6 separate regions of the Homo sapiens genome follow, and all the other regions are linked to region 1. Evidence: promoter capture Hi-C in human tissues and cell types (Jung and others, 2019). All regions are on one chromosome and are shown on one strand. Each heading gives the region's core, a stretch centred on a gene start or on the middle of the fragment in contact. The rest is flanking DNA. Distances are from core to core; before and after follow the strand shown.

Region 1 (4,342 bases), core at 1,792-4,291:
AGGTGTGCATCAGCATGCCCGGCTAATTTTTGTATTTTTAGTAGAGATGGAGTTTCAACCATGTTGGCCAGGCTGGTCTTGAACTCCTAGCTTCAGGTGATCTGCCTGCCCAAGCCTCCCAAAGTTCAGGGATTACAGGTGTGAAGCACCATGCCCGGCGAGAACCTCACTTTGGAATAGAGACCCCACAGAACCTCAGAGCTGGGAAAATTTCCTTCCCATCAAGCACCAATTTTCCCTTGCCATGGAGCACCACTGCTGGTATGTGCGCACACAGACCCCTAATTTATGCATGTATAGTTATTTACAAGGATGTGCAGGGTGGACATGTGTTGAGGCTCGGACAACAATACCCCAAAGTATGGCACTTTGGCAGGCTGAGTACTTTGAACTGATGGAGTTTGGATGACCTCAGAAGCAGCCTCAGAAGCAAGTTCTCTCTGACCTTCTCCTGCCCTCCTGCACCCCTTGTGCACCTCTTCTCCCATGAGGTGAGTCATAGAAACCAGAGTTCCCCTTCCCCAAGGTGAGTCATAGAAATTCTTCCCCCAAAGCCACCGATAGAACCTAAAACTATGACTCAAACTTTCCTCCACCCTTCTGCACAGGAGCTGGCCGTAAAGAAATTCTCTGACCAACTTTGTCTGAGAGTAGGTCCTAAGACCCTCATTCCAGAGGGGTCGTGCCCCATACCTAGAAAGAAGAAATGCTGTGCAGAGAGGCCAAGAAGAATCTGAACAGACAGGCCCTGCTGGGTCCCCATCCCATCACCTCGGTCCATTACAGTTAATCAGAACTTTCTGTCCAATCGCATTTCTATACCACTGTCCATTCCTCATTGAGTCTAAGCATAAAAATGGACAGTTCTTCCTGAGCCTTTCGGTATTCATTTCTGAAGACTCACATGTCACATTAAACTTTGATGAAATAAAATTGTTATGCTTTCCTTTTGTTAGTCTGCCTTTTGTTACAAGAGTGTCAGCCATGACCCACATGACTGGTGAGGAAAAGTATCACACTTTTTCTCCCCTACACATGTATATCACTGTACACAATTTTTTTTTTTGAGACAGAGTCACTCTCATCATCCAGGCCTGAATGCAGTGGCACGATCACAGCTCACTGCAGTCCTGACTTCCCTGGCTCAATTCATACTCCCACCTCAGCCTCGCAAGTAGCTAGGACTACAGACACATGCCACCACGCCCAGCTAATTTTTGTATTTTCAGTAGAGATGGGGTTTCACCATGTTGCCTAGGCTTGTCTTGAATGCCTGGGCTCAAGTGATCCACCTGCCTTGGCCCCCCAGTACTGGGATTATAGGCCTGAGCCTCTGCACACAGCCAAAATAGAATTTTTAAAGGAAGAGGAGAAATATGAAAAGGATTTCTATTTTTTTTCTTTTTGTATTCCAGTGGATTATCTCGCCCCCCCGCGAGCTGTGTGTACACCCAGGATGGGCCTCAGTTCCCTGACTATGGGTGAGTCCACGCTCTGCCTGGAACAGGAGCTTGGCTGGTCTTTTCCTAAGGACTTCCTTGGATACAGACCGGACAGTCCCTCTCCATCATTCTCCACTCTGTTTCCGGCTAGGCCCACCAATCTTCTTGCGTAGCGCCCAATACTGTTTGTCTGGGTGGAAATCCATCTCCGCCCAGCCTTTCATGGAGATAGAGGAAAACTGATCGGCATTCTTCCTCCATAAACTTGACAGCACTTGACTCCGTTTGGAAGATTGTGGAAGCGAGTCTTTGCTGTGTTTATGAGACCCCCGGGGTTGTTGCGAAGATCAAGTGATAAAGAGGATGAAGAATTTTGCGATACACAAAGGGCTCCAGAAATGTCGAGTGATATTATTAGCAGTGATTTGCATTCATGAAGGGAAGAATGGACGGAAATTAAATGGAACACTTTGGACACGTGTAAGGAAACTGCTGTCGGTCTAGCTCACTCCCCAGGCCGGGGAGCCTTCCTGGGAGGACCCATTTTCCTACACAGCTGCCCACAGCCCCTCTCCATTTCCACCTCCCTCTAGGTAGGAAGGGAACTCAGGTTGGGCAAAGGCGGTGAATTCGCATCTCCAGGAAGCGGCGGGGCCGGAAGGCAGCCAGCAGGGGGCGGCATTGCGCAGGACAGGAGAAGGTAGCGGCCAAGTTCCTCATGAAATCCACGTGCGTGAGGCTGGGAAGGTCCTCTAAGATGTTTAAATAACCCTTAAAGCGGAATCAAGATTTGTTTTTTTCTGCAGTTAGAGAGTTTGCTCCCTCCCAGCCGGCTCGCTGAGCGCTGTGGAACCCTTCGGCTGGGCTCCCCTGAAATCGGGCGCTTGTTCTGGGACAGGCGCAGAAGGGACCCCGGGAATCACGCTTGCGCTCGGGATGTGCAGGGTTCCAAGGGTGACACAGGGGAACTTTTCTATGCAAGGGCTAGCTGCTAGTGCAGGTCTCAGACTTACCTTCCGTTCATTTCAAGACAAATTGAGCTCAAATTACCCTTTTCTTTTTCGTTAAATGAATGGGGAATGAATGAATGAGATTTTCTGTTTTGAAGATGAGGCTCATCTCCCCTCCCCTCGCCTCCCCTGCCCTCCCCTACCCCTGCCCTCCCCTACCCCTGCCCTCCCCTCCCCTCCCTTCCCTTCCCCTGATCCCAAAGTTGATTCCCGGTTGCAGGAACACAGCGTAGAAAATTCGATGCATTCTCTCAGGAAGGAGCCTGGAGTGGGACTCAGGGGACCTGGGTGCTGGTCTCAGCCCCACGCCAGTCGTGGACAGGCTTCTGTTCCTTGGGCTTCTCGTCTGTAGAATGACGGTTGGAGAGAGGATTTTTCTCCTTCTCTTCTACAAGGATGTGCTGTGACAGCCAGGGAAGGGCTGGCCATGCACAGTGCTTTCATGCATGGGCTCTGACTGTCACCAAAGAGCCAGACCCGGCCACAGGCCATCCTGGAAGAGGGGAGAGCCCTTTAATGTGGGCAGAGGGAATGTTGGCCCGCCAGAGTTCCCTCTCAGGTGTGGTGGGAGTGGCAGTTGAATGGGGCAGTTGGAGAGGAGGACTTCAGGCGGGTGGGACAAGAGAAACTGAATCTGAGGTCCTTGGGGAGAAGCAGGCCCTGGAGTCCTGGGCAGCAGATGCCAGGCTCTGAGCCCCATGACTGCTGACCCTCCTCCCCTCCCTCTCATCCTCAGCCCAGGTAAAGCTTCATTTCCAGCCCAGGTAAAGCTTCTCCCTGTAACAATTAGTGGCCACCATTTAGTCCCAAGGGCCTTTGTTTCTCATCCTCAGGACAGGCTGTGTGTGTGTGTGGTGGGGGGTTTGGGGGAGGTGACACCACTGAATGGGGCTGCCCAAGTGGGAGGCAGCAGGGACGAGGCTCCCAGAAGAAAGGCAGCCCCTCTTCCACTTTTGGAGCCCCCGCTATCATAAAAGAAAAGGCAGAAATGCCAAGACGCGATTTCAAAATCTCTGAAATACAAAAGCCTACATTGAATATTTTAAGTCTTTTCCCACACATGCACAAACACAAACACATATACAGGGTAGTGTTCACAATTTAATTATGGGATTTATACCTCCCCCCCAAAAAAAAAGACCTGGAAAGCTTTACTGCAGTTCTCATATGAGGTTTTCATCTTTCTTTCTTTTTTTTTTTTTTTTAACTTTTAAATATATTATTTTCCTGGGAGGGTAGATTTGAATTGCTCTGAATCCAGGCTCTGCATCCTTCTTTGATCGTGTCGGAATGTGTCTGTAACTGGATGGATGACCTCTTTTGGAGATGCCATCACTGGCCACTGTTTTAGGCCTTCTGGGAGATGAGGGTACTTGAGCAAAAGCACCCCCACTTCCCTTCCCACACCCCCAGCTTGGTGCTGTCCCCTGCATGCACTTCCCTCTGCCACCTCTCTGCCTCTCCCTGCCTCCCAACCCCAGTCCCTCATCACTCACAGGGCTTTCTGATCTGGCTGCCACAGGTGCCTGGGACCTGGGGACAGACAGGAGAGGTGCGGTGCAGGCAGGGCCTGGGAGAGCTCCCCAGTGTCTCCTCTGTGCTGGAGGCCAGTCAGGCCCTGGAGGAAGGGGCTGTGGGAGTTGGGGGAGACCATCAGATATTGATAACTTTGGTGGCTTTAAATTAACAATGGATTTATTAAGAAAGAAGTAGGGCTGTAGTCTCATACCTGGGAAAAATTTTATGACTAAAGGTGTGCCTGCTTTTGGTTGATGGAGGAACTCCCATCATGAGCACCAAGGAAGACCCAGAGTCCAGTTCTCAAACATAAAGTTGTTAATTTTCTGGGCTAGACAGGGGCAGAAATGAAATATAACAGAGCAAAGTGGG
Region 2 (4,123 bases), core at 849-3,348, 570 kb after region 1:
TTGGATATTTTATTTTCATCTTCCATTTCCTGAAAACATTATAATTCTGCCATAATATCCTGACTCCACCTAAAGAGCTTATTTTAAGACTGACAGCTCAAACTTTACTCCCTAGCCAAGTTTCTATAATTGTTTTAGTCTAGTAAATGCACTGGGACTGGAAGATGATTCTGAAACCTGACCACTGTCATGGGGACTTGAGTTCCAGTGGTGGGGAAGGGCTGCACTGCACTTCCCTTAATCCCATGACCAGAACAACCACTTTTGAGACAGTCCCTAAGGCCAAGGGTACCAACTGTAAACATAAGACTTTGCTGATCTCACTGGTCTCAATTAAAAAGAAAACAATTTGAAGACTGATCTTTCTTTTCTTCATTAATCACTTCTCAGAGCCTGAGCTAAGGGACTTGCTGCCCTCATCTAGACTCAAAAAATAAAACAAGGTACAACTGGTCATTGGATCTACCTATCGTACATGATCTTCACATTCTTATTCTGGAACAAAACCACACCGCAAAACTATGGTCAGGAGATTTTCTCCCCTAGTTCAGTTATGAGGCTGTCACTGAGCTCTGTAGCAGAGCCTGGAGAAATGTATTCTTCCGGAAAGGGTATTTACTGATAGGAATTTCCCTTCTGCACCAAGGCTGTGGTGGCAATAGATGTGTAAATAGCCAACTTTTGCTTACTGACCCAACAGCTCTTTCCAGCAGCCCCTCTCACAACCCAAGCTTCTTCGTCCTCATGCACATACTGTGAAAGGAATTCTCAAACTACAGAGAAAGATAAATTTGAACATGAATTTTCAGGGTCTCAAAAGAGCAGAGCTGAGACTCAAACCCAGGAATCACAAAACTGTTGCTTACTATGACTATGACATTTGATGAAAATAAATTCTGATAGACTAAAATATTACTGTTTAAATATTATCAAACATTATTTAAATAATATTTAAATATATTTGTCATGAAATTTATACAGAATATATTTGAGATCATGATGAAATATGTGATTCCCATATTGAGGATTATATATGTTTCTAAATGTAGCTCTGCCCCAAATTGGCTTTTATTGTAAACAAATCATTATGGAAACTAGGCCTTTTTATCACATCTTATTCTCAGTGTCCCAAAGAAAAATAAATTTGGAAAATAGTTTCAGAAAAAGATTTAAAGTGTTTTTTTTTTCCTTGAATAATAAGTTATTATTGGAAAAAAAGGAGGAAGTATAGGAACGCATAATAATCATAACCAAAGCAAAAAACTTTACCACCCAACAACTGCCCGTAAAAATAAAATTAACATTTGTTTTATCTCATATGCTGAAGCCAGGGGCAAAAGGCAAGCCTTTCACACTATTTGTGAAATGGATACCTCTTTCAGAAGCTCAATAATTATTAAGCAAAAAACAGCTTAAGAGTTTTCAAAGAAAATGCACAGCTCCCAATTCTAAAAGTAGAAAGTGTCCAACAGCTGAAATTTCCCATACCAACAAATTGATCTTCTATTAATAGATTCATTATGGAGTGGCATTGGTTTTACTCCTGGTTTTGCCCCTGTGTGGTGTGATCTGAGAAACACTACCTCAATCTTCCGATCATTCATTTTGAGAGAGGGGCTCTACCATCTCTCTTGAGTTGCCACCAAGAAGGAATGTACTTTTTGAAAGTTCTAATTAATTTAGTTAAAGACACACGATCAGGTCTTCCAAAACCTTATACCAATGGCCTTTAGAAATAACAGTGAATATCAATATGATCTGAAATCCCTCAAGTCTTGAGGTGGTTTCTATGGATTTTCATTTGAATAAAAGCATTTCTTTATGTCAATTCTTTTCCCAGCAACTGACTTTTAATTAGATCACAGCTCTTTTAAGTATATACAATGACATTATAAAATGATTAAACACTAAAAAGATCACATGCACTTTTAAATGTGCCACTGTTTAGCAGGCACATTATTAATTTAACTGCTGTAGAGGTGGTAATAGTAACATTTTCAAAGTCATATTTCTGCAATTCTCCACATCAGAAAAAAGAGACGAAAGGGAATTTGTAAAACAAGGACACTGACACTACCTTGTAAAAATGGAAGATGAAGGGACTTTACTGGCAACATGTGATATTCTTGTGGCTAAAGAAATAAGACATGGCCCGGCGTGGTGGCTCATGGCTGTAATCCCAGCACTTTGGGAGGCCAAGGCGGGTGGATCACCTGAGGTAAGGAGTTCAAGACCAGCCTGGCCAACGTGGTGAAACCCCACCTCTATTAAAAATCCAAAAATTAGTCGGGTGTGGTGGCACATGCCTGTACTCCCAGCTACTCGGGAGGCTGAGGCAGGAGAATCGCTTGAACCCAGGAGGTGGAGATTGCAGTGAGCCGAGATCGTGCCACTGCACTCCAGCCTGGGTGACAAGAGCAAGAAGCTGTCTCAAAAAAGAAAGAAAGAAAGAAAGAAGACATTATCTGTCCATATTTCTATCTGAAACAATCAAGTAGTAGTCAATTCAGCAAATATTTGGTGCATAGCTCCACTGGAAATAGACGTGACCTGAACAAGGCCAAAAATTAACTCGGCTTAGAGCAGTTGTTCTCGCCCTTGATTGTATATTAGAATTCCTGAGAAGTTCCAAAAAATCTCAATGCCAAGGCCTCCCCCTACACCAATTAAATCAGAATCCCTGGAAGTAGAGCTCATATATGAGTATTTTTTTTAATTCCTCAAATGATTCCAATGCATAGTCAAGATTGAGAAACTGGCTGAGGAACAATATCAGCAATACAGTTATAACTCAGAATCCAAATGCAGAGTAAAGTAATTTAGCGATTTTAGAATTATAGCTGAGCAATTTATGAAAGCTTCCTGGGAAAAGTAGAGCACTGAAAGATGGGTAGAGTTAGGAAATGTAGCTTGTATGTATGTGTGTGAGTATACACACAATAGGAAGGGGTGCATACAGGTATGTAAGCAACATACACTAAGACTCAGGTACTTCAAAGGAGATGACACTATTGCAAAAAAGAGCTGGCTACTACCATGTAACAGCCAACCAAGAGACACTCAGCTCCATTCAGCTCAGTATTTGGTATGTCACAGAAGCCAGGTTAGCAAGACCTGTACCTTTCCAGACTGCTGTTAACATCAGCTCTGGTTTAATCCATGCCTCCTCTCAGTCTCCTTGATATATGCTCTAGAAAGCTTTCAGTTCTTTCTCATTTCCCTTCCTTTGTATTACTATTACTTCATAAATAATAGCAACAAGAGTCGGCCGCGCATAGTGGCTCATGCCTGTGATCCCAGCACTTTGGGAGGCCGAGATGGGTGGATCACCTGAGGTCAGGAGTTCGAGACCAGCCTGGCCAACATGGTGAAACCCCGTCTCAACTAAAAATACAAAAATTAGCCGGGCGTGGTGGCAGCCGCCTGTAATCCCAGCTACTCGGGGGTCCGAGGCAGAAGAACTGCTTGAACCCGGGAGGCGGAGGTCGCAGTGAGCCGAGATCGCGCCATCGCACTCCAGCCTGGGAGACAAGAGCGAGACTTTGTCTCAAAAAACAAAAATAAAAAAAACAATAGCAACAAGAGATGGCATTTATTAAAAGTTTAATCTCTGCAAAGCACTATGCTAACTAACTTTTATTTGCATGAAAACCTCCTGAGTTAGGTCCTATTATCATTATCTTTATTTTTTTAGACGAGGAAGCTGAGGCTTAGTTAAATAGCCATACTCACTGGTGGAATTGAGTACAGAGCATGCAGTGATCCTGTCTCCTGACCCCTAATATAATGCCATTCTTTAAAGTCATTTTATCCTCCTACTCCTGTCTGTCTATCTATTCATCCATCCATCCATCCATCCAGGAATATGAAAATGGGTGATCCAGAGTGTGTGGTAATTCCTCATGACCTTCATATAGACAGAGCCCATCCATCCTCTAGAGGGAGTTGGGATGAGAAGAGTGCTTGTGTACGTAAGAAGGAGAAGAGAGGTGGCTGCATTAATATACTACAATTAAAAACATTCTTAAATTCAAGACTTGAGTAGATAGTATTATAATTGCCATAACAAAAACCATGTCGTTTTTTTTGCACAACTGTGTAACCTCCTAAAATGTTTCTTTAC
Region 3 (4,408 bases), core at 1,645-4,144, 620 kb after region 1:
CCTCCTGCCTTTTGTATAGCTACAGGTACATTGTTATAAACTCAAAGCTCACAGGTGGAAGTGGGCTCCAACCAAAGGGCCAGGAGTCAGAGCTTCCATGTAAAGATTTCAGACATGTGACAAAATTTATACTCTCAAAAGAAACTATGGAAAACCAAGATTATGGTGAATTCTTAGTTAATAACGTTCCTTTATTTTAATAAGGACAATTTCTTATGTGGGCTACAGGTTCTGATTACAGGGTTTGAAATTTAGTCATCGTGTTAGGTTCAATATGGCAAACTGAATACATGCATCTGCCTACCCTTCAACACAAAACCCTTCTGAAATGGTAATACACATGTCTCACCTTCATCCTACACACACATAATTAATATAATGTATATACTTTTAAGAAGGAAACAATAACACAGAAAGCCAAGGTGAGATTCCATCAGTAGACCAGAAACTTTCAGAAACTACAGGAAGGGAGAAAGCACATGGGAGGGAACTGGTGGAGAAATCAAAGCAGAGGAAACCACAGCCTCTCAAAATGGTGCTTCCTTGTTTTCTAGGGCCTCCAGGAAATCTCTATGCTCAGAGTCAACAAACACAGAGATAAAGAGTTGATCAGGGATAAGTCTACCCAGGTTATCTCATGAAGGACGAATGGCTGGGGCACCTGAATCCATGATGTTTACATTCTCCTCCCCAACAGAGACATTTGCCCTCAGGGGCAAGCATACCTCCCTCATTTCAGTGAAGGAAAGAGCAACCAGGGTGTTAAGGCCTCACAGAAATAGAAGAGAGTGTGAGTTATTTCTAGATTTCTCCAAAACATGCACCTATTCCAGAATCTCTTCACCCAAGGGTAGAACAGTACATCCCACAGTAAACTTTTTTAAATTTTGAATATTGATCAGGGTCCCCTCAGCTTACCCAACTCGGGCTACCTTGCCTATATACCTTAAGGGAAACCTTCCTGTGTAAACAACCTGCTCACTTTCATGATGTTAGCTATTTCATGGTCTTCAAAGTTATTTAGATTTTATAACACAACAGAAAATACTTGATAGTTTTTCAGGTCTCTAAGTTTAAAGCTTTGTGGCTAGGTGCAGTGTCTCATGCCTACAATCCTAGCACTTCGGGAGGCTGAGGCAGCCAGTTAACTTGAGCCCAGAAGTTCAAGACCAGCCTAGGCAACATAGCAAGACACTGTCTGTACAAAAAAAATTAAAAAATTAGCTGGGCATGGTAACATATGCTTGTGGTCCCAGCTGCTCGGGAGGCTGAGGTGGGAAGATTGCTTGAGCCTGGGAGGCTGAGGACAGTGAGCTGTGATCACGCCACTGCACTCCAGCCTGGATGACAGAGAGAGACCTTGCCTCAACTTAAAAAGAGAGAGAGAGAGAGAGAGAGAGAGAGAGAATTTTCCACGTATGTTTACAATACCTGCTTACAATTCAGTGATTTTTCCATTCTAATCCTGAATACATATAACCTGTACCTTTGCTTTGAAATATTTCCACTTGAATTTCCCATTAAACAGTATGTTCTAAACCCTTCCACCAAGAAGCACTTTTCAATTCTGCTTTTTTCCCCATCAGACCACTCTTTTCCAGGCTCTCAGTCTAGAAATCTTGAGATCAACTTTGACTACTGTTCAATAAAATTTATATGAGGACATTGATTTGGACTGAGCTCCTGCAGTAGGCCCAAGAAACCAGACCAAACCAGAATGGAGTCACTTATGCTAGGTGACACACAGTCAAACTGAACATTGAAAAGGGCCAGTTTTCTGAAGAAAAACGAACAAACAAAAGCAGGAGATTCACAGCAGCCAATCAGAAGGGGCCCAGTTTCCCTGAGCTGGCATGATAAAGAAGTCCTTTCTACTTTAATCCTATAAGGAAAGTAACTTTGAAACAACCAATCAGCTTTTTGTTCCCTGTTTCTGCTTTCTTCAGCCCTTTTCTGCCTATGAAGCCAACCTCTTAAGCATAATTCATTGGAGAGCCTTTGCTAGATCTTTGGAAGAAACGCCACTGATTCATGAGTCACTAATAAGTCAATTAGATCTTTTGAATTGTTGCAATTTTGTCTTTTGACACTACTATGTTTCCTTTTAACCCCATATTCATTCCACAGGAAGGCTGCTATTTTTCACATTGCTTCTTTAATCAAAAAAGTTTCGTGAATTCTGACAGAGTATTACAATTCTCATATTTGACATTCAAATCCTCTATATAATCTTCCCACCCTGTCCCCACAGAACTCTATTTATTCCACAATCCTCCGACAGGAACCTGGGTTCTAATTGGGCTGGATGGCCATTAGTCTTGCTCATTTCCAAATGAAAACACTTTTCTATGAATCTTCCTTCAGCCCCCGTTCAAAACTTTTCTTAGTGAAGTCTCTAATTTCTCCTAACTCTCACTATACTTAGAGCCAAGACCACGGCTCTTAATTTTTGTTCCAAGTGTGTTTTTTTTCTCACCTCTAACTAGTACACAGGTCTACCATCTCTTATTTGCAATTCTAAAATGCCACAAGTTCTGAAATCCAATTGTTTTTTCTTAACTCATTTGTCAGCAAAACCCAGAACTGAGATGAGATTAGCTGCCTTATGTTCCTCACTTTGTGTGAATATGTATACATCTTACTGCAAAAATATTAATGTGCAGATTCTGCCCTAAGCCATGCTGGGGTTACTATATAATAAAAGGTATCAAAACAGTATTACTTTTATTTAAATCCAGCAAGTTTTGAAATCGAAAACATATTTGGTTCTAAATGTTTTTTCACATAAGAAACTGTGGTCCTGTATAACTTCTCTGAGCTCAGAAATGTAAACTTCTTGTAGTTCTCACACAAATAATACTATGATTTAGTAAGAACTGGCCTCTTGAGGAAGTATAACATTGCTAGCTAGAATATAAAAATAAAGATCGGCCGGGTGCGGTGGCTCACGCCTGTAATCCCAGCACTTTGGGAGGCTGAGGTGGGCGGATCACCTGAGGTCAGAAGTTCGAGACCAGCCTGACCAACATGGAGAAACTCTGTCTCTACTAAAAATACAAAATTAGCTGGGTGTGATGGCACATGACTGTAATCCCAGCTACTTGGGAGGCTGAGACAGGAGAATCGCTTGAACACGGGAGCCGGAGGTTGCTATGAGCCGAGATCGCGCCACTGCACTCCAGCCTGGGCAACAAGAGTGAAACTCCATCTCCAAATAAATAAATAAATATCATAACCATTTCCATGGTCAGGGTATTCTGTGTATTATTTTCAATCCTGACTCTAGTTTATGTACTCAATGTTGTTAGCCCATTGTTGCATCTTCATACCAATTTCTAATTTCTGTTACCTTGCTTTGAAAGCATGTACCTTTGATATCCACTTCTGCAAAAAGTATGTAGAGAAATATTTCTAATTGGAAAGAGCTAGAACAGTCAGATCCAAATGTCATCTGTGGTGTTTTCAGTATGTTTTAAGAGTATCATTAAGACAATAATGCAAATATCTGAAATACTTTCAAAACAGAGTTAAATGAAATACAACAATAACGTTTGAGATTGAATTAGAGTAAGTATTGCACTAAAAATCAAAATCTTAATGGACTTTATAAAATTTAAGGTGTGTGTGCTAAGAAACAAGTTAGAGATAGAGCGGGACTTATATTGTATAAAATACAGTTTTAGTTCACTGCAACTCCAAAAGCAAACAATTATTTAACTCTCTCTCCATATGTTACTAAAAACAATCAGTATAATAAATCAGTATAACCAAACTGTATAGTAACTCCTCAATTCTGAGGGATAGGCTCCTAAAAACATCTATGGTAATATAATTTGTTAACAAGAAATTTATTATGGAGAAATTAGATAAGGAGATACTGAGTTTATAAATGACCACTGAATGTTCACTAAAGTAAAACAATTCAGACCAAGCACAAATGCTAAGTTTAAAGGAAGTTTTTGTTATACATGTTAAATTAGTAATACTGGGTACTATACAAATGATTTCCATTTACTGTTCCTTTACCACTAGAAACATTTCAGGATTTCTCTTCCCCAAGTTTCAAAAAGATATTTGTCAGTTAATTTGTCTTAATGAAGGTAAGTGCTGATTAAAAGGTCTTCTCCCCTGTGTCTTGTACAGCTAAATGCTTAAGGTTTTTATGATTTCACACACTCTTTAGTGTAACCGAGCCCTACCTGCAGTGAGTAACTGCTCAGGAACAACAAAGCTTTGCGTAACCTTGATTTACTTCAAAAACTCTCTCCCTGATACCCAAAGTGAAGTAATTTTAGTCCTCCTTGTATTTCACTGTCATTTCTCCTTAGCTTATTTCTTCCTCACTCATTCCTCATTTCTTATGACCTCAATAAATTTTATGTTATTCTGCCACATGTCCCTCAATTTT
Region 4 (4,430 bases), core at 259-2,758, 530 kb after region 1:
ACATTTAATAAGTGGAAGAGACAGGTTTTATAGCTAGGCCTGTATGAGATGCAAAGCCACTATACTATATTACTTCCTTAAAAACAAAAATTTATTACACATATATGCAGTGTTCATTGATCTTTAAGAAAGTAATTCATGCAAAATTCTATGCATTTGTATATTTAGAGGAGAAAGCATGAAACTCCCACTTCCTCATTAATTTGAAAAATGAGAGACCAAGTGTACTATATGTTTTTAGCTGAGATCTATATAAATATGTACATGATTTAGCAAACAAGTACTGACTTTCATCCTCAATTTGGAAACTTGCAGCACAGAAAATAAGCTCTTATGACTAAAAAGCATTCCTTTCATATTGGCCTTTTCTCCAAAGACTGTCAAAGTAGATCAATCCATTTTAATTGGCATATTAAATGGGCTAGTCTACTTCACAGATTCAAAGCTTGGGTGTCACTGAATGCGAAACTGAATTCTCTCAAGGGTGTGTCAATACACATGATCTGCTCTATCATAATAATTCTGCCATTAAAGTAAAATATTGCCTCAAGTAGCTGACCAAAAATACTTGTATTTTATTCACCTGCATGACAGCAAAAATACATGGAACTCTCCAAGGACCTCATGAGAGAAAAATCATTCCTCAAGAAAGTAGACACTCCCAAAGCCCAATCCTTTGTTTTAGAAGGGGGCAACTTGTCAGGATATAGATTATTAAACAAGGTGGAGCTAGAAGGCGTTAATTGATAGGTTTTCTTCAAAGATCACTAGACCTTTAAAAATGTGAATAGATTCAAAACAGGAAAAAACGTGAAGTAGGTAAATTTCAGGTTAAGTTCACAAATTTATTCATATTTATGAATAACTGAGATTTCTTTCCTTAGAGAAAAATGTCAGAAATATAGATTCATTAAAACAATACTAGATCATAATAATCCTTGTATATCTTTATTCTGGACCATAAATCTTGCTTTCTTACTTCTATTTTTCCTTCTTTTACATTTTAGCCATGAGTATAAGAAGTTTCCATCCTGTAGATGAAATATTTCATTATACATCATGCCTATTATTGAAACTTTTAATTTTAATAGGTTAAATGGGTTAATTAGAATGATGTTATTAAATGTGTTTAAGCTCATTTTTTTGACTTCCAATTCAACTTTTCTCAGTTCTGGATTTTTTTTATCAAGGCATTGAATTTTAATTGGCTCAGGTATAAATACCAATTGATAAGAGACTCTTCATTACCCTTCAAGACAGCAGACAGAATTACCTGAGGAGAAACTCTGTGCGGCTGTGGCATATTCAGGCTAGGCTCTCTCAGAAGCATCTTTGATGCCTTGACTATTTTATTCTGTTTTACTAAGATAATCATAAGAACTTCTATTCAGTACTCAAATTCACTCCCATGCTTGGGTTTTTGGTCCCACACAAACGCTTTATTTCTTTGCCAAGCTAGTGAAGTTGTTGTTGTTATTTTTTAATCTTTTAAGTAGAAATTATGTCTCAAACTGGTTAAACTATTTGAGAGCATTAGAACACACTGAGCCAGATAAAACTGAGCCACATGCATGATTTCCTTAAATCACCTTAAATATCCTTAAATCTTTTTAAAGACTAATAAATCTTTAAAAACTGAATAGATTTAGAACAAAACTTTAAAAAGGGAAATCGCTACAAGTCCATATTGTAGGAGTGCTATATAATGTATCTACCAAATTAGGAGGGGTTTATAACCTTTCTTGGATTGCAGTAAACTCAACTTCCTGAGCAGATGGTCTTCCACCATATAATTCCTTTTTAACTCCCTACAGTCTGGCGACTGGGCACACTACTCCACTAAAGTCACTTAAAGGTTACCAATAACCTAGATTATGGAAGCCAGCAACAGAAGCGCTGGAAGGGGATTTACGAATTAAACCCAGCCAAATAATTTTACAGATTAGAGAACTACACTCCAGAGATGCTAGGAGTCCTTCCCCAGATTATACTGCAGTGAATCACACAAGGTCTAAAGAACTAGTACCTGAATTTCTGCCAGTGCTTTGCTGCTCCTCCCAGCCAATGAGGTAGTCAGCCTTCCTGAACCAAGAAATCAAAATTCTTTACACTTTATACCATTTTAAACTTCTTGCTAGATTATACTGTCCTGCCCTTCCTAGAACATCTCTTTTTTTTTATATTTTTTATTTTTTTGAGACAGAGTCTCACTCTGTTGCCCAGGCTGAACTGCAGTGGCACAATCTTGGCTCACTGCAACCTCTGCCTCCTAGGTTCAAGCAATTCTCCTGCTTCAGCCTCCCGAGTAGCTGGGACTACAAGTACACGCCACCACACCTGGCTAATTTTTGTATTTTTAGTAGAGACGGGGTTTCACCATGTTGGCCAGGCTGGTCTTGAACTCCTGACCTCGTGATCCACTTGCCTCGGCCTCCCCAAGTGCTGGGATTACAGGCGTGAGCCACCATGCCCGGCCAGAACATCTCTTTACTCCAGCATCTGCATTACCTATACTGTGGGAAAGAATGAAGCCTGGAGCCTGGCCTTCCAAGAATTGTCTGCTCCCATAGGTTAATTTCCACCATGAACCATGTTCAATAGAATACAATCTTGCATCTTTTATTTATATTAACTACTGGGCACCTCAATTAATTGTCATGTCTGCATTGGAACTATCAAAATACAAGTAACAACAACTGCTAAGCCCAAGGTTGGATTCAGAAGCATGCAGTGTGCCTCCTGTGTTCTTAACCATTTTGCTAGGCAGAACATCCAACAATATGAAACCTTTCCTATTTGTACTCTTGAATATTGAAATAGCATTTTCATATCAGAATATTTTTTTCTATAATTCTTCCTTTGACACTAGAATGGCTTATTTATGTAAAAATTCTGCTGCATCCAACAACATCTATTTTGAGAAAAAACATCAATTTTTCTTAAATTGGTTTAAAAACAAAATGAAGGGAGAAAAAAGCAATTCCTGGCTGGCTATTGCCTGTTAAATATAATAGTTTCAGACAATATTCCAAAAACATTTAAAAAGGTATTAGGTGTATTTTCCTATTTAACCAGGAATCTTCTGTATTCTAATTAGTATAATACACATGTAAAAATAAGTCCATTTGCTATAGAACTCCAGAAACCCAACCCCTAGTTACTATAAATAGATGTTCTCTAAGGGTCACCTTATACCTAGTGGACAACTGTAACGCAAAATACAATAAATCAATAAAATGCATATGGCCAGCTGCTTGCAGTTTCTGCTGCAACCAGAGCTCTCCCAAGTTTGAATGAGCTGCAAAGGCTGGAAACAAACACTCTTCAAGAAACCATTATCTCACATTAGCATGGCAGAGGCGCTGCAGTATGAACAACGAAGGTATCATTCGTAGATAATCAGTGGGCACTAGAATTACCTAGGCAACAGAAGATGATGGGCCCTTTAACAGGAACAAGTTAGGGTGAATGGGGAGAGGGAGTAAACACCTCCTGAAAGCGTTTTCCTTTGGATAAGGAAGAAGAAAATCCCTACTAAAATTACTGTTATAGATTTGTGGACTTGGTTTCATCCTAGCATAACAGGGAAGAAGAAAGAAGGAAATAATTAACATGATGATATAATGAATCCCAGCATACATTTTGTACTGATGGGGCATCTTTGTGTTTAATTTTTCAGATCACTTTCACAGAACTCTCAGCATCCTAAGGCACCGGTGCAACTGTGTTCCTATGATGTGATATTCAGCCAGGCTGTTCAAGAACAAGCTATTTCTCCTGTTAACTCCTTCACACCATTACAAAAATCACTGCTTCCAAATGCTTGACATTCCCTCCTTCCTTTCATTCTTCAGTTAACGCCTTCATATTGGTTCTGTCACTTGACAACTGTGGGACCTTGGAGAGATTACTAAACCTCTCTGAGACTCACGTTGTCTACCTGTAAAATGGATATAATATTTGTCTCAGAAAAAAATGTTAAAATCAGATATAATGTGGGTAGAAGTGGCATGTACAGTGCCTATAAACAAAAGAAACACAATCAATAGTAGTTATCATTGTATCTATCACTTCTATTCTCTGGTCCTGTCAAATACCAAACTAGGCTAAGAGAAGGCAAGAGTAAGACACATTCTCTACTCTCAGGACCTCTTTGAGGAAGTCAGGCATGTAAACCAACAACTGCAATAGTGACAAGTGTTGTAACACAAAGTATGCAAAAGAAATCAGTCTTAATGGCACAGCTTCTAAACACATGACTTGTTTTCCGGGAGTAATTTATAGGATGGGATAATATGGTATTTTGTATAATTTATTTTCCCCAAATCAAATGTGACATAGAAAAGTGGGGGTAGAAAAGCAGACACTGTTTTTCTAAGAATAAAGTTTATAAGAATAAACACCTGTTTATAAGAATAAAGGATGGTCCA
Region 5 (4,618 bases), core at 802-3,301, 670 kb after region 1:
AAAGAAAGCAGTGAAGTTGCTCTGCTATGTATGAAGTCCTGACCAAGAAGCAGTGTTCAGGAAACTTTTGATGACCAGTTTACAAATTTATTCTCACAGACTACCCTATCTCCTGCTACTGTCCCATCCACATTCTCTGATTTAATAATGTAGTTCCACCTCCTGAGCAAGATTTCCATGATTAGACAAGTTGGAAAATTTGTCTTCCTCACTTTAGAATGGATGCATCTTAACCTCTATAGTTAAAAAGATTTGAATATACTATACATAGATTCAGCACTGTGAGCATCTTCAAGATGACTGATATCTCTTTGAGAACAAAAGAAACAAAACTTAAACCATGATTTATTTTCTGCACAGTTCCACCATACACCGAAATTTAAAATATTATGGAATAAATGTGCTCTCAATGGAGGAATAAATAAATAAATTATGACACCTTCATTCAATGAAGTATGTTAAGACAGTTTAAGGAATAAGGTAGTTCTATATGATTATGAAAGACTAAATACAGTGTGGAAAAGTAATGTTACAGAAGAAAAGATGTTTAGCATGATCCTAGGTGTTGAAAAGCTAAGCAACAATAACTATATATGTATAACATTTGAAATGTACATGCATATATAGATAACTAAGTACTTTAAAATGCCTAGAAGGATACACACCACATTGTTAAAAATGATTACCACTAGGGAAAGGAGTGTGATTTTTATTCTTTATAGTTCTGATTGTAAAAATGCTATATGAAAATATTATATGCATTTACTACTTGTGCAATTTTTTAAATGGAAAAAGGAAATTTGAATGCCTAACTACTTATGCATTGCACAAGATAGTTTATATACATTATTCCATCCCATCATCCTGACAAAGCTGTGAGACTGGTATCTCTAGATAAATAAATGACAATGGCTTTGTCATACCACATGGAGGCACAGAGAAGTTATTAAATGGCAGTCTGAATTTGAAAACAGGGCTCTGTGAAGACAAACTGTACATGTGCACTTTTCCTTATACTATGAAACCTCACCAAAAAAAATGCTTCACTGAGAAGCATTGAGCCTTTAATCCTTGCTTTCACTTTCTGCTTTAAACAGGAGATTGCTCCAAAATTATTTGTATATGCATACATACATATATACATACTTTTATTTAACAACTCCTATTTATTATTATACTTCATTTGAACCCTCAAGATTTAGAGTCTACGTTTCTCCATGATGGATAGCAAGGTGGGTAAGAAACATATTTCACATGTAAAATAAGAAATGGCAAATATGAAATAATATAACTTCATAAAAAGGAAGCAAAATTTGCCTATTCAACTTATCCAAATAATATGTGAAAAGCCCATTCCACCATTCCCATTTTATTTTTAATAAAAAGGTATTAAGTTCTTCCAGTGACCTTTAGAGAAAGAACATGGCCTATAAAATCTATTTCAGGATATTAAACCTGGTTGATGTTTCATGTGTTGACCTTATGAATAGCAATCACTCAACTAGCTATTTCATTTTCCTTTCTTATTTATACTACCTTCCCATAATATACTATGATTTTGTATGATTTCTGTGAGGTCAGAGCTGTATTCTGACAATTCTAATCTTTCTATAAAGTTTTGGAACTCCTTTTTAGGAAACAAATGCATTTAGAAGTGGTTATTTAATGTTATAAATGGCAATTGTTTTATTCACCAAAGTAACCCCAGTGCCAACAGTGCCTGGCACATAGTGAGTGCTTAATAAGTATTTACTAACAAAATGAAATTACTATACTCTGATGTCTAAACCTTACCAAAAGTTACTGTGACTCAGCCACAATGAATAAGGTGACGAATCAGTGCAGATGAAGTGAAGACTCACTCATCAATAACCTTAACTATAACTATAAGGTAATTCATTGTTCTCTTCTATTGAGTGTGTTCTATTCTATTCTCTTATGTTCTGTTATTCTATTGCTTATAAACGGAGATGGGAATGATATAAAAAGATGATTAAAAAACGATTTGACCAATGGCAGCACCACTAGAATAAACGTATGTAGCCTTACAAGTGGATCACTTTATAGAGAATAATACTAATCTGAACACATAATAAGATTTCTCAAGAGAAACTCAGGGTCATTATTTCATACTTATACTACAAGTAAAAATTTAAAATTCCAAACTTCTAAGGCTTAAATGACAGAGTCTTAGTTCACCATATTAACTGAATTATATGGAGGGGAAAAGAACTTCACTATATACTACTTTAAATCTTTACAGAAAGAGCCAGGTGTGGTGGCTCACACCCATAATACCAGTACTTTGGGAGGCCGAGGCAGGTGGATCACCTGAGGTCAGGAGTTTGAGACCAGCATGGCCAACATAGTGAAACCGCGTCTCTACTAAAAATACAAAAAATACAAAGCTTAGCTGGGTGTGGTGGTGGGCGCCTGTAATCCCAGCTACTCGGGAGGCTGAGGCATGAGAATCGCTTGAACCCAGGAGGTGGAGGTTGCAGTGAGCTGAGATCACGCCACTGCACTCCAGCCAGGGTGACAGAATGAGACTCTGTCTCCAAAAAAAAAAAAAAAAAAAAAGAAATTATTTAATAGGCCAGGCATGGTGGTTCACACCTATAATCTCAGTACTTTGGGAGGCCAAGGTGGGTGGGTCATTTAAACCCAGGAACTCCAGACCAGCCTGGACAACATGGCAAAACCCCATCTCTCCTAAAAATACAAAATTTAGTCAGGCATGGTGGTGTGTGCCTGCAATCCCAGTTACATGGGAGGCTGAGGTGGGAGAATCGCTTGAGCCCAGGAGGCAGAGGTTGCAGTGAGCGGAGATCACTGCCACTGCACTCTAGCCTGGGTGATAAAGTCAGAACCTATCTCAAAAAAAAAATTAATTGTATTATGTCTTGTTATTATACTGATAAAGATGTTATATTAGGCATTTTATTGTGTCATACATTATTCTACGCAAGTCGTACAGAAGTAATACTTTCAAGTCATTCAGCATTTTGAAAAATAGACCCAAACCATTTCCACTTCTCATTTACACTTTGATGAAGCCTGTTCTATATTCTTGTCTTGGCAAAATTCAGCAGTACATTTAATGTGAATGTTACTACTACAATTAGAAATTGTATAGAAATTATAATCTGTATAATTAAAATGAATATGGGAAGTCTTGAATGTTAGCAGGAAAAAACACAATAAACTATAAATTAGCAAAGTAAGCTGACTGTAAATAAAAACCAGAATAAAACTAGATATACTTCTGAAGGACAGTACAGAGTTTGTAGGTAATGAATGCTAGTTAATTTTCTTCCAATAGAAACACACTGAAGTTTTGTTTATTGGCTAAGTGAAACAAGGAAGAGATGGCATTAGCCTTTCCCACACTATACTTACGTACAACCCCTAGACTTCAGTGATTTGCTCCAATGCTGTCCTGAGAATCCGTCTAAGGAAGTGCCTTGCAAAGACCTACCTATAGTATAATCGTTAACTGACCAAACTTTCTCATACGGAATCCAAGCCACATTTTTCACAAGCCAGCTTTCATTCTTTAGTGAATAAGGTTAAACCCAATGTTAAATCAAGTAAAAGAGAGAAACTGCCTTCCCCTACCCCAGCCCTCAGAGTATCAACAAACTGCTGGAGGGGAGAACGTCTTCATAGCTAAAAGGTCACAGAAGGTCTTCATAGCTAAAAGGTCATGGAAGGTCTTCATAGCTAAAAGGTCATGGAAACAACAAGCGTTTTGAAAACAGGAAGAACTGGGCTGCAATCACAGCTGTATCACTTTGTAACTTTCAAGACCTGGGCTCTCTCTGAGCTAGGTCTTCTCATCTGAAAAGTGGAGAAAATTATATAACCTCACAGGGATGTTGTGAGGCTTAAGTGAAATATTTTAAATAAAGCAACACACAGTGCATATTAAATACGAATTGTCTTCTCTTCTTTGCCTTAAATTTTGTCATCTACTTCAGCACTTAGGACAGGACTGGGGCACAATGTGGGAAACCAATGGTTTCTGGATTAATTGGCTTTGTCAGGTTAATGTCAGAATCCTCTTGATCAATCCAAGAATGGATGACCCACATAATGATTTTTAAATCAGCAAATTAAATAATCAGTAATTTTTAAAAACAGAAAAAGACAACTAAGTGAAATAATGTGAAGTTAAAGCAGCCTTGGGCTGCAATGGGTAGTTTAGTGATTATGAGCAGGAGCTGCAGAAAACCAAGATTACCACTTTTTCTAACCATGCCAGAGGGAAGAGCATTAATTATGTCAGATGAGGGATAAAAGCGCCAATAAAATATGACCCTGTGCTACACAGGAGTGATGCTAATAAGTCTTCAAGAAAAATTTCATAACCAAAATGAATGATCATTTCTGAAGCATGACTATTCAGAGCTAACCTTAATTTCACGAAAAGTCACTAACAACCGTCATGCCTAACTAAAGCTAGTTGTCAAACATCCCAGAAAACCATGCTGTCTCTGTGGGAGACAAAGCAAACTCACGACCCTTGGGAGAGGAACCAAATATCTCATAGAGAAGTATAAAATGAGTACGAAGTTGTCACATCCACATTATAATGAAGACATCAAAATGTAAATTA
Region 6 (4,796 bases), core at 1,110-3,609, 650 kb after region 1:
AAGAACTGCTTGGTATGGAAAATCCACACATTTGGTGTCAGAAGTGTTGTTAGTAGAGAAACAGTATAGCTGTAGAGTCCCAATATCTTGTAAGCTTCTAGAAGCTATGCTGTCCAACATGGTAGGCACTAGCTACATGTGACTGACTAAATTAAATTACAATTAATTATATTAAATTAAATAAAAAATTAAGCTCTTCAGTCACAATGGCCACATTTCATGAAATCAATAGCCACATGTCACTAGTGGGTACTGTATTGCTCAAGAGTAATATGGAACATTTGTATGCTCATAAAAAGTTCTATTGGGCAATATTGTTCTAGAGGGAGGTTACATCTTTACCATCTCCAAGTGCCCTACACAAACAAATACAGCCCTCCTTATGATTAAAGAACCTAATCAGCAAAATAAAAGTCTGAACCTATCAGTATGTAATCAGGACCTAGAGAATGGGTACAGTTAGGGATGTAAGTTCTCTACTGATAAAGTGACAAAGCCATCTGGTGTTAATTCAGAGAAGATGACTATCCCTTCTCAATATCTGAAACTGCTGGCAGTAATCTGAACCTACACAAATAGAAATCAATGTGGTCACTCTTTTTGCACTATTATCTTGAAGTCCTGAATATTATTCTGAGCTCCTATATAAAAAATAGGTAAAATTGAAGCAAAACACATTTTAACCACTTGATACAGATCTAAAAGGATAAGGTTTTATCAGTTTAATAAAGTGACTCCTGCAGTTGACAAGGTGGTGTTTGTCATTTGTCTTCAAGACATGCAAGAACCCAGCAGGACAATTTATATTCAATCACTATGTCAGGGGAAAAGCAACTACTAAATGATTAAAGTTGCTCAAATGGGGGATTACATAAGTACATTTTGAGTTTTAAAGCCATTAAAAGACAAGTAATTTAAAATTTCAGAAAAAAATAAGGTCCAAAGTATAAGCTTTGAAGATTAATGGGGCATGCTGTATGTCAATTACAAACAAAAAGTTCTCTTGAAAGCAGTCAAAAACAAGAGGATGCTAATTAGTATTTTGTATGATTCTGGCATCTGGCAAATAAAAATAAAGATAATAATTAAAGCAAAAGTTTCTAGACTAAAATAAATCTAGAATAATGCCTCTTCCACTCGTATTTTGCTTAGATTTTTCCTGAAAACTTTTATTATTGTGAATAAACAGTTTATCATTTGGGAAGAGGTAATTGAGTATTTTGTCATCCATTTTTAACTTATAGCCTTAAAACATTCATTTAGAGAAAAAAATCTTCTCATAAGGGAATCCTGGAAAAATAAATTTTATAAAAGTTAATGATTTCTCATTAATTAGAAACTAGCATTTAAAAAAAATTTTCAGTAGATAGATACAGCAACATTTATAGCCTATTATAAAGCAAATGTCTGCCCTCCAAACTAATTGCAGATTGAATCAACTCTGAAAAACTCTGAATGCCTCTCTGTAGGCAGAATTATAAAAGACAGTAAATAAGAGAATAGGTATCTGCACACTGAGAGGTAAAACATAGCTGACATTAATAAGCAGGCATTAAGATAAGTGTCAAGACAATAAAACCCAGAAAACAGACTGCTCTAAATTCTTTAAATAAATCAAGAATAAGTCTTTGTATTCACTCAAATTCATAATCAATTTAAAATATCTCTTTTAGCTAGTATTTTTAGAAAATACATCAGGAAGCATGTTTTATGATGAGAAATCAATAGAAGTGGAGAAGGGAGACTTTCTAGGTCATGATTTTACTTCAAAAGACAACATGAGGCTAGAGGTCAAACAGTGAATGAACACTACTAATGTGCTTTGCTTCAGTTTCAAGGGAAGACCAACACAGAAATATTTCACATTTCAAGATATGTTTATATTTCCTCTTGCAACAGTATTGTAAAGGAAATGGCCAAGACAGGAGGAAAAGAACGGCAAGCAGCAACAAGATGTGAAGGTATGGTGAGAGGCTTTGAGCTGGGTGCATGCTTCAATCTCCCTGAGTCAGTCCCTCACACTCATATGCACTAGAATAATATACTCCTTACATTTCATATTTACATTAATGGTCTATATCATAGCTACATAGGAAAGAAATAATAATCCCTTGTAATTTAAAGAATGTAAGATAGCTTAACTGGGCCAGACATGGTGGCTCATGCCTGTAATCCTAGCACTTTGGGAGGCTGAGGTGGAAGGATTGCTTGAGCCCAGGAGTTTGAGACCAGCTTGGGCAATATAGTGAGACCCTGTCTCTATTTTTAAAATTAAAAAACAAAAACAACCTTAGGTCACACTCAAACTGTATCAAAAGAAAACATATTACAATTGTGATGACTGGTTAATAAGGTTGAGTAAGAAATGCCATTATAAAGTCAAAACACCTTTGTAAAGTCAAATCTCAGTAGAAAAGGCCACTAACAATTGGCTAATGGCCAGGTGCTAATGGTCTACATCATAGCTACATAGGAAAAAAAAAATGATAATCCTTTATAATTTAAGGAATTTAAAGTAGCTTAAGTTGGCCAGGCATGGTGGCTCACGCCTGTAACCCTTGCACTTTGGGAGGCTTAGGTGGAAGGATTGCTTGAGCCCAGGAGTTCAAGACCAGCTTGGGGAAACATGGAGAAACCCTGTCTCTACAAAAAATACAAAAATTAGCTGGGTGTGTTGGTGCATGCCTGTAGCCCCAGCTACTTGGGAGGCTGAGGTGGGAGGGTTGATTGAGCCTGGGAGGTCAAGGCTGCAGTGAGCTGTGATTACACCACTGCATTCAAGCCTGGGTGACCCAGAGAGACCTTGTCTCAAAAAACCAGCCAAACAACAATAAAAAAACCAACTGGCTAACCGTGCCACAAGGAAAAAACCTTAATCCAAGCTTGTCAACCAGCAGAGCATGACAGCTTTGAATGCAGTCAAGCACAGATTCGTAAACTTTCTTAAAACATTATGAGATTTGTTTTGCAATTTTGTTCTTTTTTTAGCTCATCAGCTATGGTTGGTGTTAGTGTATTTTATGTGTGGCCCAAAACAATTCTTCTCCTTCCCATATGGCCCAGGGAAGCCAAAAGATTGGAAACCCCTGCCTTAAACTAATACATTATTAGACTTCCTTCTGATAATTCTACTTTGTCAGCTTGTTTGGCAAACCCATGAAAGTCATGATTTTGATTTTCACAATGTGTCCTAGAGAGAAAAGTTGAATTCATAAAGACATTATGCATTCATGAAATGATACAAATGAAACAAACAATAACATCTCACACTTAGGAAAAAATTAACTTTAATCACAATTATTTCAACATAACATATGACATACTAGTTTAATTCCAGTATGTCAATCTGTGACATACTACTTTATTTCAAGCATCTGAAAAACCTTTGCAATATTGATTTGTACAAATCTCAATAGACAAATTAAAGGTTTTTCATATGTCTCTATTATCAGCTTATGAATAAATATACTTTTTCTCTATAACATTTTCTTGTTGCCATATTCTAGTAGCAGAATATTAATGATTTTTTTTTATTTTGACTTGAATTACAGGCCTGAAGAAGAAGACTTGTTATCACTCTTTTTATTATTTTTTTTCTTTCTTTTCTTTTTTTTTTGAGGCGGAGTCTCACTCTGTTGCCCAGGCTGGTCTCGAACTCCTGACCTCATTACCTGCCTGCCTCAGCCTCCCAAAGTGCTGGGATTACAGGCGTGAGCCATCATGCCCAGCTTATTATTTTCTCTTTTTTCTTTTTTCTTTTTTTTTTTTTTTTTTGAGACAGTTTCCCCTCTGTTGCCCATGCTGGGAAGCAATGAGATCTCAGCTCACTGCAACCTCTCCCTCCCAGGTTCAAGTGATTTTGTGCCTCAGCTTCCTGAGCAGGTGGGACTATGGGTGCGCACCACCAAATCTGGCTAATTTTTGTATTTTTGGTAGAGACGGAGTTTCACCATGTTGGCCAGGCTGCTCTCGAACTCCTGGCCTCAAGCGATCCACCCGTCTCTGCCTCTCAAAGTGCTGTGATTTTAGGCGTGAGCCACCATGCCTGGCCTATTATTTTCAAGTGCAAATTAAAACAATATGTTTGTATGATAAAAAATAAACAAAATATTAAGTGATCAAAACTGCCTGCAAAGTTACTTGTGTGCATCTCTGCTAAAATACAGAAGTTGGAAACGCATCTGAAACACGGGGTCTAGAAGGGAAAGGGAATACTACTAATGATAACGACACAAATATTTACTGTATGTTCACCCGGTACCAGCCCTTGTGCTATGTGCTCTCTCTCATCCAAGTACTGACCAGGCCTGACCCTACTTAGCTTCTGGGATCAGACGAGATAGGGCGTTCAGGGTGGTATGGGGGCAGACACCATGTTCTCTATACATTCTCTGCCCTTCCCCACCCCCACCCACTCTGACTTCCGTGGCCGCCCTCCTCCTGTATCAACCAACACCTTTTCTGGGGTCTGATGAGTGTGTGGGCATTGGGCACCTTAATCCGGCATTCGGTTCATCCCGCAGAGCCAGGTCTGCTTACCAGAAGCGGCCCACTAGGCACTCACATTCCATACCCGGCTCCACACGCCAGCAAGCCGGGCTTCTTACCCAACTAAAGTGTGAGAGTAGGTGGAGATCCTTTGGGTCGTAAAACCTCCAATCATTCACTTTACAGATGAAACCATGTGGGGTGGGTTTTGGAAGAGTGCCAGCCATCCTGAGAGAAACCTTGGAGGGAACCAGACACTAGATGGTTCCATCAGTCTTTCACCCCTATACCCAGGTTGGATGACCAAT

Evidence for each region. Contacts are between HindIII fragments. The study calls those that stand out against the background at their distance.
Region 2: a fragment that was not itself captured here is called in contact with the fragment with the promoter of ABCC12 in region 1 in 3 of the 25 tissues and cell types used here (H1 embryonic stem cells, adrenal gland and dorsolateral prefrontal cortex).
Region 3: a fragment that was not itself captured here is called in contact with the fragment with the promoter of ABCC12 in region 1 in 4 of the 25 tissues and cell types used here (H1 embryonic stem cells, IMR-90 fibroblasts, dorsolateral prefrontal cortex and 1 more).
Region 4: a contact is called between a fragment that was not itself captured here and the fragment with the promoter of ABCC12 in region 1, in 5 of the 25 tissues and cell types used here (IMR-90 fibroblasts, dorsolateral prefrontal cortex, lymphoblastoid cells and 2 more).
Region 5: a fragment that was not itself captured here is called in contact with the fragment with the promoter of ABCC12 in region 1 in 4 of the 25 tissues and cell types used here (IMR-90 fibroblasts, dorsolateral prefrontal cortex, lymphoblastoid cells and 1 more).
Region 6: a fragment that was not itself captured here is called in contact with the fragment with the promoter of ABCC12 in region 1 in 2 of the 25 tissues and cell types used here (dorsolateral prefrontal cortex and spleen).

The regions. Positions count from the first base shown.
Region 1 is chr16:48,154,692-48,159,033 of GRCh38, reverse strand. ABCC12 (ATP binding cassette subfamily C member 12) reads left to right here and starts at 3,041. Exons shown (of 31, transcript NM_001393797.1): 1 at 3,041-3,193. RefSeq lists an enhancer at 1-1,057. The HindIII fragment of the contact is 12,201 bases long and covers 1-3,412 here.
Region 2 is chr16:47,581,123-47,585,245 of GRCh38, reverse strand. All of the region lies in intron 8 of PHKB (phosphorylase kinase regulatory subunit beta), which reads right to left. Among named protein-coding and RNA genes, the nearest start is that of PHKB, 120 kb to the right of the region's middle. The HindIII fragment of the contact is 5,115 bases long and covers 1-4,123 here.
Region 3 is chr16:47,534,872-47,539,279 of GRCh38, reverse strand. The region is part of intron 6 of PHKB (phosphorylase kinase regulatory subunit beta); the gene reads right to left. Among named protein-coding and RNA genes, the nearest start is that of PHKB, 76 kb to the right of the region's middle. The HindIII fragment of the contact is 5,027 bases long and covers 381-4,408 here.
Region 4 is chr16:47,618,640-47,623,069 of GRCh38, reverse strand. The region is part of intron 14 of PHKB (phosphorylase kinase regulatory subunit beta); the gene reads right to left. Among named protein-coding and RNA genes, the nearest start is that of PHKB, 160 kb to the right of the region's middle. The HindIII fragment of the contact is 7,108 bases long and covers 1-4,430 here.
Region 5 is chr16:47,480,997-47,485,614 of GRCh38, reverse strand. All of the region lies in intron 1 of PHKB (phosphorylase kinase regulatory subunit beta), which reads right to left. Among named protein-coding and RNA genes, the nearest start is that of PHKB, 22 kb to the right of the region's middle. The HindIII fragment of the contact is 9,826 bases long and covers 1-4,618 here.
Region 6 is chr16:47,505,006-47,509,801 of GRCh38, reverse strand. The region is part of intron 4 of PHKB (phosphorylase kinase regulatory subunit beta); the gene reads right to left. It also overlaps the pseudogene RNA5SP425. Among named protein-coding and RNA genes, the nearest start is that of PHKB, 46 kb to the right of the region's middle. The HindIII fragment of the contact is 3,671 bases long and covers 524-4,194 here.